2 separate regions of the Homo sapiens genome follow, and region 1 is linked to region 2. Evidence: promoter capture Hi-C in 16 types of primary human blood cells and fetal thymus (Javierre and others, 2016). All regions are on one chromosome and are shown on one strand. The core of a region is centred on a gene start or on the middle of the fragment in contact, and the rest is flanking DNA. Distances in the headings are between cores, read along the strand shown. Region 1 overlaps NEMP1 (nuclear envelope integral membrane protein 1). Region 2 holds the start of DCTN2 (dynactin subunit 2).

Region 1 (6,215 bases), core at 2,625-5,124, 490 kb after region 2:
GTAGATTTTATTTACAAAGTAAAAATCCTTGGTCATATAGATAGTAACCTTTGAGTTATCCTTTGAAGGGTGATTAATCTGGATTTCTGTATATTGGTTTTTTAAAATAGTCTATTTCAGGGTTGTTCAACATGTACCTTTAATGTTCTGTTTGAACCAAATAAATTTGGGACAGCAGAAAGGATAGAAACTTAGAGAAATATATTCTAAGAAAAAAGTGTGAAAAATTAAGTAAAAATCTGATTTCCTAGTTCAATTGGTGCTATATAGTAAATTAACTACTGCTTCCCACACAAATTATTTTTACCAAGTATAGATGAAAAAGAATGTCTTCTGATAACTCTTCTCATAGGTTATGTCCTCACAGTTGGATTCATGAGTTTTGCAGTATGTTACAAGTATGGGCCCTTGGAGAATGAACGAAGTATCAACCTGCTGACCTGGACCTTGCAGCTGATGGGCCTGTGTTTCATGTATTCTGGCATCCAGATACCACATATTGCCCTTGCCATTATCATCATTGCTCTTTGTACTAAGAACCTGGAACACCCTATTCAGTGGCTGTACATCACCTGCAGGTGACTGAAAGGCAATGTAACTTAATATTGACAGGTACATTGTGGGATGCAGTTGCAGCAAGAGGATACAGAGGTGTTGACCTGGGAGCTTCTTTGTTAATGAAAAGTCATTGTATTGTACTTCCACTTTTGTTCCTTCCCGAGTCTATTTTTTTTTTTTTACTTTCTATAGGAATTTTTATATTTTTATTCTAGTCATTTTATATAAAATGTCTAGTAAAATGTCATGTGTTCCTGTTACCACAAGGTGGTGCAAATTCTATCACTGTTTTTTTGAGATGGAGTCTCGCTCTGTCGCCCAGGCTGGAGTGCAGTGGCGTGATCTCGGCTCACTGCAACCTCCACCTCCCGGGTTCAAACGATTCTTCTGCCTCAGCCTCCTGAGTAGCTGGGATTACAGGCATGCGCCACCACATTCAGCTAATTTTTATATTTTTAGTAGGGTTCCCCATGTTGACCAGGCTGGTCTTGAACTCCTGACCTCAAATGTCAGGAGTTCATAAAGTGCTGAGGAGCTCCCAAAGTGCTTGGATTACAAAGTGCTGGGATTACAGACATGAGCCACTGCGCCCCGCCACAAATTGTATCGCTTTTATACCGTATGCTCATTGAGGTCTCCTGGGTTCAGATTTTTTTTTTGAGACAGAGTCTCTCTCTGTCACCCAGGCTGGAGCACAATGGCGTGATCTCGGCTCACTGCAGCCTCCACCTCCCGGGTTCAAGTGATTCTTCTGCCTCAGCCTCCCGAATAGTTGGGACTACGGGTGGGCGCCACTATGCCTGGCTAATTTTTGTATTTTTAATAGAGATGTGGTTTCACCATGTTGGCCAGGGTGGTCTCAAACTCCTGACCTCAGGTGATTTGCCCACCTCAGCCCCACAAAGTGCTAGGATTATAGGCGTGAGCCACCTCACCCAGCCCATTTCAGACTATTTCTCAGTGGCTTTCAGATTGCTCTGGAGGTCTTAGTCTTATTTTAAGATGTAATTCATAGCATGTTTTGTCACCTTGCATAATAAATATGGAATGTTACTAGGTCCTGAAGTTGTCTATTATAGATAGTCAAGGTGATGCTTTCAGTTTGGGAAACCAAGTTACTGGACCACAATCTTTTTTTTTTGAGATGGAGTCTTGCTCTGTCACCAGGCTGGAGTGCAGTGGTGCTATCTCAGCTCACCGCAACCTCTGCCTCCTGGGTTTAAGCGATTCTCCTGCCTCAGCCTCCTGAGTAGCTGGGGTTACAGGTACATGCCACCATGCCCAGCTAATTTTTGCATTTTTATAGTAGAGATGGCGTTTCACTATGTTGGCCAGGATAGTCTCAATCTTGACCTTGTGATCTGCCCACCTTGGCCTCCCAAAGTGCTGGGATTACAGGTGTGAGCCACCTTGCCCGGCGTTTTTTTTTGTTTTTTTTTTTTTTTGAGATGGAGTTTTGCTCTTGTTGCCCAGGCTGGAGTGCAATGGCATGATCTCGGCTCACTGCAACCTCCGCCTCCCTGGTTCAAGCGATTGTCCTGCCTCAGCCTCCCGAATAGCTGGGATTACAGGTATGCACCACCATGCCTGGCTAATTTTGTATTTTTAGTAGAGATGGGGTTCCTCTGTGTTGGTCAGGTTGATCTCCAACTCCTGACCTCAGGTGATCTGCCTGCCTTGGCCTCCCAAAGTGCTGGGATTATAGGCGTGAGCCACTGTGCCTGGCTAGAACCACAGTCTTATACCATGATTTTCTGTTATTTTCCCATCTACTAGAAAATAAGTAAGTATTTTATCATTTATTGGAAAATAAAGTGAGTTTGTTCACATTAGTGAATAATATTGACTATAATTTTTTACTTTCTATAGGCATTTTTATATTTTTATTCTAGTCATTTTATATAAAATAAAAAGGTCTAGTAAAATGTCATGTGTTCCTGTTACCACAAGGTGGTGCAAATTATATCACTTTTTTTTTGAGATGGAGTCTCGCTCTGTCGCCTATGAATTGTCACTCATAGTCTAATGTATCAGGAGTTCATTATAACTAAAGATGTCCATGGAATTTTTAGGAGTGATGACTCTTAATGTTCAGGCTGTCTGCTGTATTCTTGGCCCACTGAAGGGAGCTAGAAGTAAGGATGGATATAGATTACTGATTAATGATTCATAATGTTATTTTGGTGAGCACAGAAAGGTGTGTAAGGGAGCAGAAAAGCCTGTTCCCCCTCGTCTCCTGACAGAAGAAGAATATCGGATACAAGGAGAGGTAGAAACCCGAAAGGCTTTAGAGGAGCTCCGAGAATTTTGTAACAGTCCAGACTGCTCTGCTTGGAAGACTGTTTCTCGAATCCAGTCTCCAAAAAGGTAAACTCGGCCAGATATACCAAGCATCTATCAGGGTAATTGTGACCTTGAGTTCTACCAGAGATCATACTTCTAGAGAATCGTGCACTTGTGACCTTTGTTTTCCTGTTAATCTTCAAGTAGTCAAGAGAAGGGTGGATATATAATCACACATTAAGCAGTAACCTGTTTCCTCAGGGAACTATCTACTCTAGCTTTGATTGTAGCATTAAGATGGGAAGACTCCAGTACCATATTAAGTTTCCCTTCTGAAAGTTTTGCATTGCTGTCTGAGTTGGTAGGGTTCCCCCCTACCCACTTTTTAGTTGGGGGCAAATGTACCAATGAGTATGTGAAGCTTCAATTTGGAATCATGATGGCATAAAGTTTACAGGGCCATAAACGTGAATAACTGTAATGCCCCTTAATCTTCTCTTATCAGGATTACAGATGACTAAAGGAACCTTGGCACTTTCATAATTAGAAAGGATAGGCAAGTGCTTATTAAGCAGGATGGAGTTGCAGGGGTATTAGCCTATGATCCCAGCTTTCCTTTTCTCCTTAACTTCATGCTTTAGTCTACTTACCTGCCAGAGTAAGGACAAGGATGTTGGCTAGACTTAATATAATTTGAGTTGCGAGCATATCGAGGGCTTTAATTTGTTCTTATTTTGAAAGAAGACCAGAAAGGACAGAAGGATATTTCTAACGAGTATTATCTTCTCTTTTCCAGATTTGCTGACTTTGTGGAAGGCTCTTCCCACCTCACGCCAAATGAAGTTTCTGTCCATGAGCAGGAGTATGGATTAGGGAGCATTATTGCCCAGGATGAAATCTATGAGGAAGCATCCTCTGAGGAGGAGGACTCATATTCTCGGTGTCCTGCTATCACACAGAACAACTTTCTAACCTAGGTAGTGGTCAGTTATCTTTACGTGGACTGGCTTGGTGCCTTGGTCCATGTTGCATGTGTTGTGCAATTGCTTTCAACCCTTTGAAACAGAGTGAGATAGATAGGGTAGAAATTCTCCTACTGAAATAAGAGGCCTAAAAAGGCCTCCCTTTGGAAATGGGAGGTCTCTATGGGATCCCTGAGGAAGGAGAGTGGATAAAGTAGTGAATGCTGGGTAGTTCACTTCCCATTGGTTAAGCTAACAGCCCACTTTTATGTTTCCAGAGAAATTGGATGGCCACAGCTAGCATGGCATTCTAGCTCCTTCTTGAAAGTTGATTCAATCATGGCATTTCTGTCACTGGCTGGCTCTCCAAAGTAAGAACTGTTGTTAAGTGCAGGAATGCTTTTAGACTATAGGCTGCAACTTCCAGAGAGAAATCCACAAATCTGAGCCTCCTTCACTCCAGCTTTTATTTCAGTGACTTTAGAATAATTATTGATTTAACTGTTTTGGGAGGAAAATAGATTTTTATTGTTTTGTTTTTTAAATGAATGTCTTTTAAAAAACATAACAAACTCATGTTCCAGAACCAGCAAGTGCTCCAGAGTGACACACCCCCTAGGCCCCTACATATTTATTAATATGGATTATCCATTAAAGCCCCAGGAGCTGTTGTTTTAAGCTTTGATTTAGTTCTCATACATATGATAGAAAGTCCTATTTGCCTTTAGGAACATGCCTGTAGGCTCTTCTGCAGGTGAGATGTACTGGGCTTTTTATTATATTCAACTTTCAATTCCATCTTAAAAAACATTTGTATTCTTCTCTTCCCATTCTTCCTTACCCTGCCTTTGCCCTTTCAGGAAGGGTCAGTTCCCTTACCTGTGAACTATGTATGTTCAGAGTAGCATTATTCCTGCTAGCTAGGAGAAGTCATCTTGTTTAGGGGATTTGGATGCTTTTTATACGTTCTCCATTTTCCTGTCATTGGGTCATGTTATCTTTGAGTTGCTATGAAATCAGGAAACTGTCTCCTTTTCCTTTCCCTTCCTTTGTCTACATGCTCTGTCCATTCCTTTCAGCCTTTTCTCACCACCCATACTCCCCCAAATCTGGGTAATTTTTAAGCCTTGAAACTATGTAGTTTCTTGATACACAATTTGTAGTTATGCAGCAGCCACAATTTGCATTGCCAGGAAATAGGCTCCAGGTTATCTTCATGCCTCTGGGTGCTCATTCAGCTGTCAAGTTTCCATGAACTTACACTTATTTATGATTGCGTTTCTGACCTGAGATGTATGCTGCCTGTTATTGCAGTAGCATTAGTTTCAGATTCTTTTGCCATTGCAAAGTACCCCTTATAAACCAGCAATGTCATCTGTGAGGAAGCAAATTCTCAAGTGTCTGTCATTTACTTGGTTCTTTTTCTTTGTGGTCTTCACCCTTATACCCTGGAAAAGTCTGTAATTACCTTAGCCAGGAAGATAGATGGTCATGGCAAGCGCACAGCACCAGACTTACTGGCTCACCAAGATGATGGAAAAAGGCAGATGATTTTTTAAAAAGCCGTAATGACTCCTTTAGACCAGCCATTTAGCGTGGTAATTTTGAAAGGCCTAGCTCCATTGCAGACTTCCAAAGGGTCAGCTCTGAGACTGCCCTCCAGGTGGGCAGTTGATTATTTCCACCAGTGTTTTCCAGAGCCTTAAACTGTCCTAAGTGACAACTACCTCAGTTGGCAGGAAAGAGACATATAGTAGAAAGTGAAAAATGAGCAGTATTTGGGCAGATGCTATGGGTTACAGTTGAAGGGTAAAAGGAACTTTACATTGGGAAACCTTTATACCCTTGTGAATTATGTACATGGTAAAATGTTCTCTCTCTACAAAGAACTATTAAAACTTCTGAAATATACTATTTTTTACCTTATTTATAGAAATTGAGACCTAGCATATTTAAGCATAAGTTTATTTTAAAAAATAATTCAACTCGTGCAAGTGGTCTCAGGATTCTCTGGAGATTTTGGTGCCTCCCCTACTTAGGGAGGTGATAGCTTGCCTATAAGGGTGACTTTTCCTGATCATGTCTTTATTTCAATGAGAAAGCACTGTGAAATTGTGAAAGATTCTCCTCTTTCTCTGTTTAATAAACCCCCATGAAATATAGTTTCCATCTCTAGACCAGTTTTTTTTCCACCGTGTTTAGACTTGAGGTGAATAAAATCAAACTGTTTTTTACTCCCTATCTGGTAGTTGGAGACCTGAGCTGTAGGCAGTGGAGATGGCAATTGGTTCTGCAGCCTGAGAGTTGCTCTCACACAGTGAAGGACGGTGCTGCTCTGGTGTGCTGTGTGTCCTTGCCCTGCCTGCCTGTGGCTCTGCCCAGATGCTTCAGATCCTCTGTGTTCCGGAGATT
Region 2 (7,053 bases), core at 1,994-4,493:
CCCCTCCCCGAATTCCCTCCTGGGCGACACTCACCCCAATAACGACGCTGTCGTCCCCTTGGAAAATGGGGATGAACTTGTCTCCCCGCAGAATCTCAGCCTGGTTCAGGGGCCGGAATCGGCAGAGCACCTTGATGCTACATTCGTTGTTGGTCTCCGCCATGGTGGTAGCCGGCGTGGGGCTGGGACTCTTCTTGGGCTGCAGGGGTGGTGTGTGCTCCAGAGGAGAGGGCTCTCAGCAGAGGCCGAGGCGGAGGACAGGTGCTCAGTCTCTGGGGACAGAGTTGAGGGCGCCCGGGCGAAGCCTGGGGAGCAGGGCCGGGGCGCGCTGTCTCTCTCCTGCGGCAGCGGGATGCGGGCGACCTGGGCGTCTGGTCCTTTCGGGCTCTCTGCCTCTCCGCCCCTCGCGCTGCAGCGCCGCGCTGCGGGCCTGGGCGGGGCCGCGATGGAGGAGCGGGGGCGGGGCTCCCTCCACTGGGGACGCTGGCTCGACGTCGACCCCCGAAGGGTGGAACCTCACCGCTCCTCTCCTCCCTCCCCCACCCCTAACGTTCGGAGATAACCTTGCCCTCGACCCTTCCCCACCCAACTCACTGCATCCCACCCCTATACCCCCGACCTGTTTGTCCCTCCCTCAGACTCCACCCCCTGGAAGGGATAAGGGGACTGAGGTGGGCCTGTCGCCTGTGTAGCGAAAAGGGTCAACAGATCTCCCTCTCCCTTTATTCCAGGGCATCCCCCAACCCGTCACAGTCCTCTCTCCAAACTGGGATCACACTTCTCATTCTCCCCCTACGCCCATCCCATGCCCCACATGCACGGAAGCTGGACTCCCAACCCACTCAGCTTTCTGGGGGGACCCCTGCCTGTACTCCTATGAAGTTGGGTGTCGTGGGAGGTTCTGGCTACTCCCTTCCCCTTCCACATCCAAAGGTGCACTATACTGTCTCCCCAACGTACACACCAGGTCCCCAGTTTCAGGGAAGATAAACTCCCATTCTGGGTTATGGGAATTCAAAAGCAGATACAATACTTATTTTTGTGTCCTAGGCTGAGGATGGGAGGAAGATGGGTGGGAAACATCTTTGCAAGAGAAAGGGAGTCAGAAAGCAGTGAAGGAGGGGCAATGATGGGGATGGGTAAGGCCAGAGAGACTTTGAAGTCTGAGGCAAAGCCGGCATTTGGGTTTCAGGCAAATTCAGATACCTACGGGAGTGTGTGTTTTCTGTCTCAGTAACCATTGGAGGATAGAGTCCCAATACTTCAGCCCCCTTCCCTGGCCAAAAAAAAAAAGGTGTGGGGGAAGAAAAACGAAAGAAATGCCAAGCCCAGAGATTCCTTGTCCTTCCTTCCTTTGGGTCAGACTCCTGCTGCAGCCCCTGGAAAGAACCACCAAGAAGCTGGCCAAATTGATTTTTCTCCATGTCACAGGCCTCTGCTGGCCAACAGAGAGTTGGACTGCAGGAGTTGAGGTTCTAGGCAAAGAGGAAGGGCAGGGTGGATGGGAGAAGGAGGAGGAAAGGAAAGTTCTGCTCAGCAACTGTCTGGTGAGTGGTTAAGGTCACTTAAGACACTATGGGACAAAAGTAAGAGGCTGATAGCCTGGCCAGACAAGACCTAACTATTCAGAACTCAGGGGGTTTCCCACATTGGGGCTACACCTCTAACCTACCTTGAATCTTAAGGGAACTGAAAGAAAAGAGTCCAACATAAGGAATGGGACAGGAAAGCTGTAGGACTATGGAGAAAGGGATAGAGGCTTGGGGAGGAGCCAGGAGAAAGAAAGACAACGAGTTCCGAACTCAGGAACTCTCTAGTCACTTGGTTTGGCACAATTTCTAAGTGTTGCAGCATCCTGCAAGCTCAGGAAACATCCTGGGAAACATCCCATCCTTGGGTCCCCAGGGGCTCCAAGGTGGCATCTTTAGTAAAGGGGTTTCAAAATGCCAGTCCATGGAGGGTCACTGGTCAGAGACAAAAGTTCACTGAGTATGCCCTCACCTCCAAAAGAACAATGGTGAGTTTTTTTTTAATATAAAGATGGATTTGATAAGTTTCAAAGGACTATCTTTTATTCTGAGTGTGTCCTTCTTGCTTTTCTACCAAGTAATGATGGTGACAGTAAATAATAGGTTTTCTATTTGTAATATACTTACTTGATAAAATAAAAAGGCAAATCTTCAAGGTTTGTAGTTGTTTTAATTTTATTGAACGATGAAATTTAAAAGTCTGAGAACGGAAGGTAAGGTTGGTGAATAGGTACAAAAAATTAGAAAGTATAATAAGACCTACTATTTGATGGCACAATAGGGTGACTATAGTCAAGAATAACTCAACTGTACATTTTAAAATAACTTAAAGAGTAATTGGATTATTTGTAACTTAAAGGATAAATGCTTGAGAGGATGGATACCCTCTTCTCCATGATGTGCTTATTTCACATTGCATGCCTGTATCAAAATATCTCATGTGTCCCATAAATACATACACCTACTGTGTACCCACAAAATTGAAAAAATTGAAAAATAAATAAAAGTCTGAGAACTATTAACGAAGTAGTTAAGAGCCCAGAGAGTGTTCAGACAGACATGGAGACACCACTTACCTACTTATGAACTTCAGATAGAATTGCCAGATTTGAAAAACAAAAAACAAAAACAGGATGCCCAGTTAAATGTGAATTTCAGATACTTAATTTTTGGGGGGTTAGTATACCCACACACCACACACCACACACACACACCTACTTATTATCTGAAATTCAAATTATCTGAAAGCCCTTACTTGAGAAGATTGCCTAACTTTTTCATTCCTAACATACACTACGCGTTTACTAAATTTTACTTCTTGTTTTTATTTTGTTTTTATAATACACAGTATCAAGCAAACTTCTTGTTTTTGAAACCCCGGCTGTGTCACAGTATGACTACCTGTATCATTTAATCTAGTCATTTTATTCCTGGGAGCCCCAAACAGGAATTATAAATGTTCTTTCACTGACTTGCTGTAAAAGTGAGAGAAAAGGCTGTATGAAATAGCTCCCCAAGGTTCGTTATTGTCGCTCCCCGCCCAAGCTCCAGTACACCAAAACTACACATCCCACAATCCTAGGCGGCGTCCCCTGGCCATTACCTCATTCCCTGGCCTCGTTCTCCCCAATCCCGGCCTCTCCAGGGGTGTGGCAGCAGGGCTGTTCTCGCGACTTTTGCTTTACCCTTCTGCTGTGCTACTGCTGTCGCGAGACTTCCTGCTCATCTGCCGCTCCCTTTGCCGCCGCCTTAGCCCGGGACCCGAACCCAGCCTCTCCCCTACCCGAACACCGGCCCCGGCTCCACCGAGGCCCGGGTCCCCCAGCCCGTCTCGCCGCCGCCATGGCGGACCCTAAATACGCCGACCTTCCCGGCATTGTGAGTACAGGACCGGCCCCGGCTCCCCAGGACCGCGCCCCCGACCTCCCAAGGACCCCCAGCAGAAACCAGCCCGCGACCCCTCCCGCCTGCAGCCCATCCTCCGCCCAAGGGCTCCCGCCGCTCGTTCTCCGATCGGCCTCAGCACCCCCCGAACTCTTCTGACCCGACTGGGCCGGGCCGCCGGACGGCGCACCAGGCCCCCTTTCCGGCAGTCGCCGGTAGCTCGGCCCAGAAATCGACTCCGGGTACTGACCTCTTGTGCCTGAGTTTTTCCACCATCCGTGTCAACGCCTCCCATGTCCCCCCCAAATCTCTCCATAAGACCCCATCGCTACCCCAGACACACACACCAGACCACTTAACGATGGCCTTCATCCTGCCAAGGAAGAGGTTCTGCCATCTGGCAGAACCCTCTTGTGCCAGATGGGGAGCTCTATCCTTGAGGGAACCTATGCCCTCCCCCAGCCCCCACTCCCATGACAATCCTGGCGTGTACCTTCCTTTTGTGCTGCCCTGCCTGCTTCTCAAGGTGAGGGTTGGGACACAGGACCTTGAGTACTAAGGTCCTGAGTCACTCTCAATCCTTGTGCCAGGGTGGTGGTGTACGGGGCCTAATTGGAGGATAGCCTTCACCTTCTTTGGCAATAGTGATTGCCAAGGACCTGCCCGCCTCTAGATTTAGGGTAACATCGTTGCTATCACTTACACTCACCGTTTACTGTCAGGTCCCAATTGTTTCCGCTGTCATCCCTACCCCTTGAGACATGGGAACTGACATACTGTTGACTCACGGGGCAGGTGGAGGAGAAAGGACAGAACCCTGACATCACACCCCGCCTTCTCTGTTAGCTTATTCAAATGGAGTGGGGGAAGGGGTGTTGTTGGATGCTGGGTAGTGAGGTTGGGTGGTCACTGCTTCTACCTGCAGGCCAGGAATGAGCCAGATGTTTATGAAACTAGCGACCTACCTGAGGATGATCAAGCGGAGTTCGATGCGGTAAGAATGTGTGCTGCCACAGACTCCTCCGGACTCTGACCTTTCTCCCCTAGACAGGTCCTTCCCTTTCTCGGGGGAGCTACAGCAATAAGCGGGTATGCCAACCCCAGCCTGGGTGGTATATAGGTTGCAGGGCTTGCAAAGACCTTGCTGGGCTTGCAGCCACCAATGAGCAATGGCAGGAGGGAGAGTCAAGTCAGCGGAATTACAGCTAACAACATCTGTTTGCAAAGCCCTGATTCTTGGGCCTTTTAAATAAAATTGAAATATCTCAAAACAGGTTTGGAGCTAGTGACTTAGGCCCCTGGGTTCTAACCCATGGAAATGAATCATGAAGCCTGGGCACTTGTAATAAACTGCTACCAAGAACTAGACTTTGAAATATGGAGAAATACTTTTTCCATATGAATATCCAGTATCCATTGGGCAAGGAATTAAGAAAGTGATTCCAAGATTTTAGAGCAAAACAAATTTGAGGAAGAATGTAAATATTTCACATCAGCGGATGTGAGACTGTGGTTGCATTTTTAGATCCGAGAATTCTGAGGATGGAGTAATTAGGTACGGATACATTTTAACTGTGAGGGGAAACATTTAGTATGGTTTATTGAGTGTGTTCATTCTGTGGTTTTTTTTGTGCAATGCAGAGGAAGAAATGTCTCTGCCCCCAATGAGCCCCAGACTAATGGGGAATTAGGATACATATAGGAAACATATAGAAGGAAAAAAAAATTGAGTGAATGGAAATCAACATAGTAAAAACTCTGTTTAAGTGCCAAGAGGTGTGTTTATAGGATGTGTTTTAGGTTCTATTATTTCTGAAGACAGCTGGGCTGGGATCACATTGATGATGTGAGTTCTCAGTAAAGATGTGTCCAAGAGTCATTGCAATATGCAGGCTCAGTATGCTTGTCTGTAAGTCCTGTGGCTATGTCTGTGGGGCTGGTTAATTCTGGGGAATGCTGACTGCTGGCTTACAATGTGTGGCTTGGCGTACTCACTTATTTCTTATTTGACTCCCCCATGTGGAAGTGGTTCTTACATTGTGGGAAACACCTTCTCTGTCCCTTCTCCCAGTGGTGTGTTCCTTGTGGCTTCTGTATTTGCTGGCATGCCAATCTATCCCCTAAGCTTGAGTATCTTGGAGATAATGCAGATGATGTTGTTGCTCAAGGACCTGGGTGTGCACCTGTCACTCCAAGAGGCATCTTATAGGAAGCTGCCTCTGTCCTCACAGAATAGGAGTGTATACAATCGGTTCTCTGTATTTATGGGTTCCAAACCCATGGATTCAACCAATCACAAATGGAAAATATTTTTTAAAAATAAAAAATAGGCCCAGTGTGGTGATTCATGCCTGTAATCCCAGCACTTTGGGAGGCTGAGGCAGGTGGATCATTTGAGGCCAGGAGTTTGAGACCCCGTCTCTACTAAAAAATATAAAAATTAGCAAGGCGTGGTGGCGAGCGCTTATAGTCCCAGCTACTGTGGAGGCTGAGGCAGGAGAATTGCTTGAACCTGGGAGGTGGAGGTTGCAGTGAGCCGAGATTGCGCCACTGCACCCCAGCCTGGGTGACAGAGCAAGACTCCATCTCAAAAAAAAAAAAACCAGTACAACAATAAAAAAAAAAACAAAATTTAAAAATACAATATAACAACTATTTACATAGCATTTACATTGTACTAGGTATTTTAAGTAATCTAGAGATGATTCAAAGTATACAGGAGGGTGTAGGTAGGTTATATGCAGTTACTATGCCAATTTATATAGAAGATGGGAACATATGCAGATTTTGGTATCAAGGGAGGTCCTGGAACCAGTCTCCCACAGTTGCCAAGAGACAGCTGTATGCTGAGAACTTTACTGCACTACCACAGTTCAGACTGTTCAACTTAGGCCTAGGCTTCTGCCCTTCATGGTGAGATAATGAATAGAACTCAGTCCTTTTGTCGCTGTGATACAAACAGGTAGTTTCACAGTAATCCTCTTTCTAAACAAAAAAATACATATTGTCATTCCCTTTTGAAGATACTGGGATATCTCTTAATAAAAAGGAGATGACACCCATTCCAGGTGTGGAAGAACCTGACTGTGCAGCTCTGATTGGCTGTTTCTCCCCCAGAGCCTGAACAGCCTATTTTAGTAGCATCTAGTGGGGTGGCTGATGAGGAGAGGATACTGTGAGTGTTCATTTCCTGTGGCATGTTGCCCAGGATGCCAGTATAGAAGTGCATATGAGCTGAATGGCAAATACAAGAAGAGCTGAATTGTTTCTGTCACCTAAGGCTCAGCTAAGTGACTCTCTGTCACTAGGGAGGAATGGGGTGGGCAGACCTTCAGCCACTTCAGGGGCCCGAAGAGCCAAGATGTTTCCTGATGTCAGCTAATGTCTCTGGCCCCCGCATGTCCCTATGGGGCTTGCAGCTTTTGGGAAGTCAGCTGAGTAATGGCTCTGCCACTGCTTTTAATACTGACGTAAATATGCAATTTGAGGAGCAGTGAATTGTATGCTTAGATAATCTAGAAATGTCATGTCCGTGAGGCCTGGGATCTCACCAGCAGCCTGTCTGTTTCCTGCCTACCTGCCCAAGACCTAGTACAAGTGACAGTGCACATGACCTGTCTTGTGGCTGAACCATGAGATT

Evidence for each region. The method cuts DNA at HindIII sites, captures the fragments that hold promoters and counts their contacts. A CHiCAGO score of 5 or more calls a contact.
Region 1: a fragment that was not itself captured here is called in contact with the fragment with the promoter of DCTN2 in region 2 in 1 of 17 cell types (neutrophils); the score reaches 5.3 in neutrophils.

What each region holds. Positions count from the first base shown.
Region 1 is chr12:57,057,482-57,063,696 of GRCh38, reverse strand. It overlaps NEMP1 (nuclear envelope integral membrane protein 1), which reads left to right. Exons shown (of 9, transcript NM_001130963.2): 7 at 353-578; 8 at 2,752-2,925; 9 at 3,638-6,215. The coding sequence ends at 3,818. Among named protein-coding and RNA genes, the nearest start is that of MYO1A, 10 kb to the right of the region's middle. The HindIII fragment of the contact is 1,220 bases long and covers 3,265-4,484 here.
Region 2 is chr12:57,543,382-57,550,434 of GRCh38, reverse strand. DCTN2 (dynactin subunit 2) reads left to right here and starts at 3,243. Exons shown (of 14, transcript NM_001261413.2): 1 at 3,243-3,407; 2 at 4,339-4,407. The coding sequence starts at 3,372. KIF5A (kinesin family member 5A) reads right to left here and starts at 391. Exons shown (of 29, transcript NM_004984.4): 1 at 35-391. The coding sequence starts at 163. RefSeq lists enhancers at 1-56, 2,975-3,114 and a silencer at 325-664. The HindIII fragment of the contact is 9,827 bases long and covers 1-5,540 here.